Linked DNA regions of Homo sapiens: region 1 is linked to region 2. Evidence: promoter capture Hi-C in 16 types of primary human blood cells and fetal thymus (Javierre and others, 2016). All regions are on one chromosome and are shown on one strand. Each heading gives the region's core, a stretch centred on a gene start or on the middle of the fragment in contact. The rest is flanking DNA. Distances are from core to core; before and after follow the strand shown. Region 1 overlaps SMCHD1 (structural maintenance of chromosomes flexible hinge domain containing 1). Region 2 holds the start of METTL4 (methyltransferase 4, N6-adenosine).

Region 1 (2,867 bases), core at 146-2,645, 110 kb before region 2:
ATACTACAGAGTATGTCGTTGGTATTAATCCAGACTGGATTGTTATCAATTAAGATGCTGGTTGTAATCCCTAGAAAAACAACTAAAAATGTAGATTAACAACTATTGGCCAGATGCGGTGGCTCACTTCTGTAATCCCAGCACTTTGGGAGGCTGAGGCAGGTGGATCGCTTCAGCTCAGGAGTTGGAGACCAGCCTGGGCAACATAGTGAGACTCCACCTCTATAAAAAATTAGCCAGGTGTGGTGACATGCACCTGTGGTCCCAGCTACTTGGAAGGCTAAAGTGGGAGGATCACTTGAGCCCAAGAGGCAGAGGTTGCAGTGAGCCAAGATAGCACCACTACACTCCAGCCTGAACGACAGAGCGAGATTTGTCTCAAAAAACAAAACAAAACAAAACTATTAAAAGGATATTAGTGATTGCCAGGAGATAGAAAGTGACAACCACTTAGTACAGTGTTTCTTTTGGAGTTGTAAAAATATTCTGGAATTAGTGGTGATGGTTGCACAATTTTAACTCAAACTACTGAACAGTATGCTTTAATACTGTGAATTTTATGATACGTAAATTTTATCTCCATAAAAGATAAATTCAATGAAGATACATTTAAGACAGATACAAGCAATTAACTGTATAATATGTGAATTTTACCTCAAGATTAAAAATATTGAACCCTAGAAATTAATACGGATACTTTCAAAACTAGGAAAAAGTATACTGACATTTATAACTTGTTTTGAACTGTATTAAAAAACCAGATAAACTAATGGTGGGACAGATATATAAGGAGTAAAGCAACTATCAACGGTAAAACCTAGGTGTGAGTATATGGGTATTCCCTGTAGAATTTCAACTTTTCTGTATGTTTTTAAATGTTCATAATAAAATACTAAAGGAAAAAAAACAATGCTGAGGAAACACTCAGATCCAGGTTGTGGACCATTCTACAAGAAAACTAGCCTGAACACTACAGAAAAATTGAAATATTATGAAAAACACAAAAGCTAGGGAAACTATCATAGAATGAAGGAGATCGAACATGACAACAGGAAAAAAACTTATGAAAATCTTATGTTAAATATTGTTGCATTAATGATAAATTTCTTAGATGTAATAATGATTTTGTAGTTATTTATGAGAATCCGCTTGTCCTCAGAATACACATGCTACAGTATTTGGGAGTGAAATCTCACAAACTGACAGCAGTGTACTTTCAAATGATTCAGAAAAGCAAAGTGTGTGTGTGTAAGTGTGTAGACAGATCATAAATGTGACAAAATGTTAACAACTGATAAATCTAGGTGAAGGATATATGGGTGCTAGTTCTTTCATCTTGTCTATTGGCTTGAAACGTTTCAAAATAAAAAGGGTGGGGTGAGGGAGTAGTACCCAGGTAAATGAGAGTTACAAATAATATTTCCAAACTGAAATTCTCACATCTCCCTCTACTCTCCCCTCTATCTACTATGCTACAGTCACAATAGTCTCCTTTCTGTCCTTCAAACAAAATGAGACTGTCACAATTTCAGTCTTTGCTTTGCTGGTGCTTCTTCTACCTGAAACACACTTCTCACAGATCTTTATTTGGCTACTTTCTTCTGATCATTCAAGCCTCAACTCAAATATAATCTCAAAGAGGCCCTCTTCTCCAACCACCTTATCTAGAGGAGATGTGCATCAGCTCTATTATTCTACATTTTTTTTCTAGCAATCCATTCCTTCAACATTACTCTTACATTTTATTCATAGTAATAATAACTGAAATGCTTTTACATGTAATTTTTTGTATTTACTTCTGTTTCTCTCTCCAATACAACATAAGCTACAGGTCAAGACTGTTAGTTGTTTAGTACTTTTAGCCTGTTCTTGCCTTTCTTCTACAGCCTGTCTTCTATGACATCCATCCTTGTATCCAGAAAAAAACAAATGGAAGGAGTAAAGCAACTGAGCAGAAGCTAGAGGCTGAAGGGGTGTATCTGATATTGATAGAAATTAGAGTGGGTCAAGGAACTGATAATGGACTTAAAAGACAGTACGAGTACCTAACAGCTATAATAACAACTGATTGTTTACTGACACCAAACCCATAAAGCTAAGACTAAAACCAGCAGCAAAAAGATTTTTGCCAGAAATTACAATTTCCCTAATATTTGGTTAAGTTTAAAAGTTTGTTTTGTTCTAAGAACTAGAGAGAAATCAGAGTCAATGTCCCATGAATTCAGTTAAGATTTGCATTTCTTTCTACTCTTCCAGTTGATATAACTGATGTTTTTCTGACCATTTTGCCTAATCTACCATCTGTTCTACCTTCCCTTCCACCTAATACTTCTGTGATATGCTAAATCCTATCCTCACACTATCAAAGACAGTGGTCTTTGCCTTCTCCCTGGCTTTTTATAAATCCTTTAAATGCCACATATTTATGAAAATGGTGAAATAGAATGGTTGTGGAGAAATCTAGGCCAGGTGCAGTGGCTCACGCCTGTAATCCTAGCACTATGGGAGGCTGAGGAGGGCGGATCACCAGGTCAGGAGTTCGAGACCAGACTGGCCAACATGGTGAAACCCCATCTCTACTAAACATACAAAAAATAGCCAGGCATGGTGGTGGGTGCCTGTAGTCGCAGCTACTCGGGAGGCTGAGGCAGAAGAATCGTTTGAACCTGGGAGGCAGAGGTTGCAGTGAGCCGAGATTGCACAACTGCACTTCAGCCTGGATGACAGAGCGAGACTCTGTCTCCAAAAAAAAAAAAAAAAAAAGGCTGAGGTCAGGAATGAGAAGTAATAACTAAAATGACAGCTTCTATAGCTTATATTTATTGACTGTTTACCATATGCGAGGCTCTGTCCTAAGGATTTTACAT
Region 2 (3,309 bases), core at 283-2,782:
CTGCATGGAGAGGCGGCCAGCACCACCGCTGGAAACTGAACTGCGCTTCATGCTTATGACCTACATTCACGAATTCAGTATTTAAAAAAAACTTTCCAGACAGAGATGGTACATTAAGCAACTATTTATCCTTAAACAGAAAGACAGTCAGGTTTCATTGTTTCTTCAAGATCATCATCTTTCCCCTGGGGTATCTCTTTTTTGTTCATGTACACTGAAGTTCTCATTTGCAAGGAACATCTATTTAATTCCATTTAAAAATATTCAACATAAACATTTATTAACTGCCCACTATATATATAGGGGAGTGTGCTAGGCAATGCAGGAGATGCAAAGACGAGTAAGTTACGGTTTTTGCCTTCACAAGGGTATCCGTGGTAGCTAAAGCCCTGTCTGTTACCCAGACCACATTACTGCTGTTGGCTGTGCCTATTTCAATAGGAAGACAAAAAAATTACCTCAAATTCTCTTATTCACCTCAAAATGTTTCCTTTTCTTTGGTTTCAGAGAATGGAATTATTCTGTTTTCCTAATGTCAATCTCTCCTGCTCTGTCCTTAACCCATTGTTTCCTCAATTACTGCCCTTTTGGCATCAATCTCCCCTTCAACAAGGATAAATCATCCGGTCCATAAAATGGTCTATAGGCTGCCTCCATTTACAAACCACATTAACAGGTCACTCCCTTCACATCTGCTAAAAAATTTGTCTCCTAGGATACACATGATTGACAAAACTTTTGATCCTGTCTCATCTCTGCACCCAGCCTTCTCAGGTCCTGCCCTGGCTTTCAGGAAGGTGACAATCCTTTTACTTCTCTGGGTACTCCTTAGTCTTTTACACTGATTAGACTCTTCTTGATTTTGGCCGCCTATTTCCTCTTCAATATGCGCTTGTTCATCTATTCAACTTTTCCACTCACACCTGTGTGTCCACGTTTAATCTCCACTTAGAATGTAGCTCTCATGATTTAAGATGAAGACTTCTACACGCAGTCCTACACGGCCATAAGAAGCTACACTAGTATTCAGACGCAACCCACCCAACGAGTCCTCTCTTGTCCATCTCTTTCCGCCCCCTTCAATTCTTCCCCGTTTCCTCTCCCGAGCCTCCACTCCTCATCAGTGTCCCCCAGGCCCTCCCCTTTCCTCCTTGGGAAATCGTTGCCACTAGAAATTTAATAGATCCCGTGAAACCAGCGCCTCGCACAGTTTTGGCCTCGAGGCTTCTCCCAACAGCAAACAAACACCAAAACATCGCCTCAGGACCTCTAAATTTAAGTCATTGGCGCCATCACTTTCTTCCTCCAGAACAGCTCTGCAGAAACAAAGTTAATCCGATGTCATTCAGTCACCTTTTTTCCAGTTTCCTGACACGACCCAGGGACCGAATTTCTGTAAACCGTGCAAGTATCTGCTAGACAGGACAGCGGTCATCAAAACACCAGGTCCTTCCTCGGCCCGCCAAAGCCGTTCGAATTTGAAATTCTCCGCCGGCGCTGACGTCATTACGCACGACGCGCGCAGTAACTTCCATGCGACCGCCTCGTCGCTGGAAGGCTGCGTGCTGGTCGCGCCCAGCTGCGTCACCCCAGGAACTGGGGTCTGTGGGCCAGTGTGGCCGTCTCTACGAAGACTGGCACGACCCCTAAAGTTAGGTCGGAAGACCTGTGGGCAGCTTGAGCGCCGAGGAGTGCCCTGAACGCTCAACTCGCCCTGGAAACGTTTTTCCGTACAGCAACATGGCGGCGCCCATGGACTCTTAGAAAAGGAGAAAGCTTTTTCTCTGTGGACTGGAAGGGGCATTTTTCATGATCACTATTTAGATGGGTGCTGTTTTCATGAGGAGAGTCTGGGAAGGCGGCGTCCGCTTTTCTGACAAGGGAAGAGGTGAGGTGGGAGAGGGGCTGCGGAGTGGGTGGAATGGGCTCCCAGGATTGCGTTGGTACGGCTGCCGAAATTCGGGCTCAGTATTTGATCACTTGCCGGAGGCTCACGGTCCTCTGGTGGTGGCTGACCTGTGAGAGGCTAGGAAGAATCCAAGTGTTTGGGGGCGGGCGGCGAGGGAGTGGATGTGAAGCAGAGACGCAGGAGAGGGGTGCACTAACAACAGTAACAGTAGATCACTTTGCTAAAATAGGATTTCCTCGCTGCTGTGAGTTTGAATCCAGAAACAGGCACTGCCCGGTACCTGGAGAGTGGTGGTGATGAAAGATCTCACAGCTCCAGGAAGTCTGGATACTTGGGTCTGGTAGCAATTGTGCCATTAACTAGCGTTGTTATTTTTGGGCAGCTTGCCTTTCTGCTCTGAGTTTCAATTTTCCCGTCTGAATTTCTAGCTCTCACTAGCCATTCCAGGACCCTTTTCACCTCAGCTGTGGCCTATGAAGGGGATGGGGAGGAACCAAGGATTATATTAATATAAAAATTATATGAAAATTAGGCAACCGTCTGATAATAAAAAGTCTCCTTGTGGAATACTGTTAGGTTAAACTTTACCTACAGATTGTTAAATCCTTAGCACTAATGTTTTCCCCAGAAAAGATTAATGGAAACATCATTTGCTTTTCTGACTAGATAGTTGCTGCTTCCAAAGGTGGTTTTACACAAATACAAAATTAAAAACACCTTTAGTACAGAAATAATTGCTTGTATTTCGGTATACATTCACAGTACAGTTCAGCATTTAGTGGTCCTGCTAGCAATTTGCCAGGAAGTCAAGCCTGCCAATTTCCTGATATTCCTGCTGTGCACCCCAACTTCTTAATCCCTGCTGAGGATCTTGAGAAGCAGCAGCACCAAAACCAAAGTAGGCACCAAATTCAAGGTTCTTTTGGTTCCGGTTGTCACATTTCAAGCTAGACTCCAATAGATGGAAGGATGATCACATGTGAGCCCTGTTTAAAACTTCAATTTTTAAGAGCAAGCACAATTGCAGGAAAAGAAAACAATTCAGAGGGATCATGTGTGCTTACAGTTGTCTTCATGTGGCCTTTTCCCAGGTTTAACCACCAAGGACCCTGACAGCCGGGGTGTCTGAATAACCCTGGTGACTCTTTTCACCATATCAAAACCTGAGTTAAAAGGCTGATGATAACAGCAGAAGGTGGCAGGGCTGAGGACCCACTATTAATTTCCTAGGCTGGTGGAGAGTGAATAAATGTTCTTCCAACCTTACCTTATGGCTTCTGGTCAAAGCAAAGAAGTGTCGTGGAAAGTGTTGGGTGGTGACAGTGCAAAAAGAGACTTGACGGGGAGGGAGCAGCATCTCTTGATAAAGGTGGGGAAGAGAAGATATGGGGAAAGCCCTG

Evidence for each region. The method cuts DNA at HindIII sites, captures the fragments that hold promoters and counts their contacts. A CHiCAGO score of 5 or more calls a contact.
Region 1: a fragment that was not itself captured here is called in contact with the fragment with the promoter of METTL4 in region 2 in 9 of 17 cell types (naive CD8 T cells, total CD8 T cells, naive CD4 T cells and 6 more); the score reaches 14.8 in naive CD8 T cells.

What each region holds. Positions count from the first base shown.
Region 1 is chr18:2,675,159-2,678,025 of GRCh38, reverse strand. All of the region lies in intron 5 of SMCHD1 (structural maintenance of chromosomes flexible hinge domain containing 1), which reads right to left. Among named protein-coding and RNA genes, the nearest start is that of SMCHD1, 21 kb to the right of the region's middle. The HindIII fragment of the contact is 8,128 bases long and covers 1-2,867 here.
Region 2 is chr18:2,569,728-2,573,036 of GRCh38, reverse strand. It overlaps METTL4 (methyltransferase 4, N6-adenosine), which reads left to right and starts at 1,532. Exons shown (of 9, transcript NM_022840.5): 1 at 1,532-1,888. It overlaps NDC80 (NDC80 kinetochore complex component), which reads right to left and starts at 1,480. Exons shown (of 17, transcript NM_006101.3): 1 at 1,354-1,480; 2 at 1-60. The coding sequence starts at 51. RefSeq lists enhancers at 1,475-1,634, 1,517-2,439. The HindIII fragment of the contact is 2,186 bases long and covers 1-1,778 here.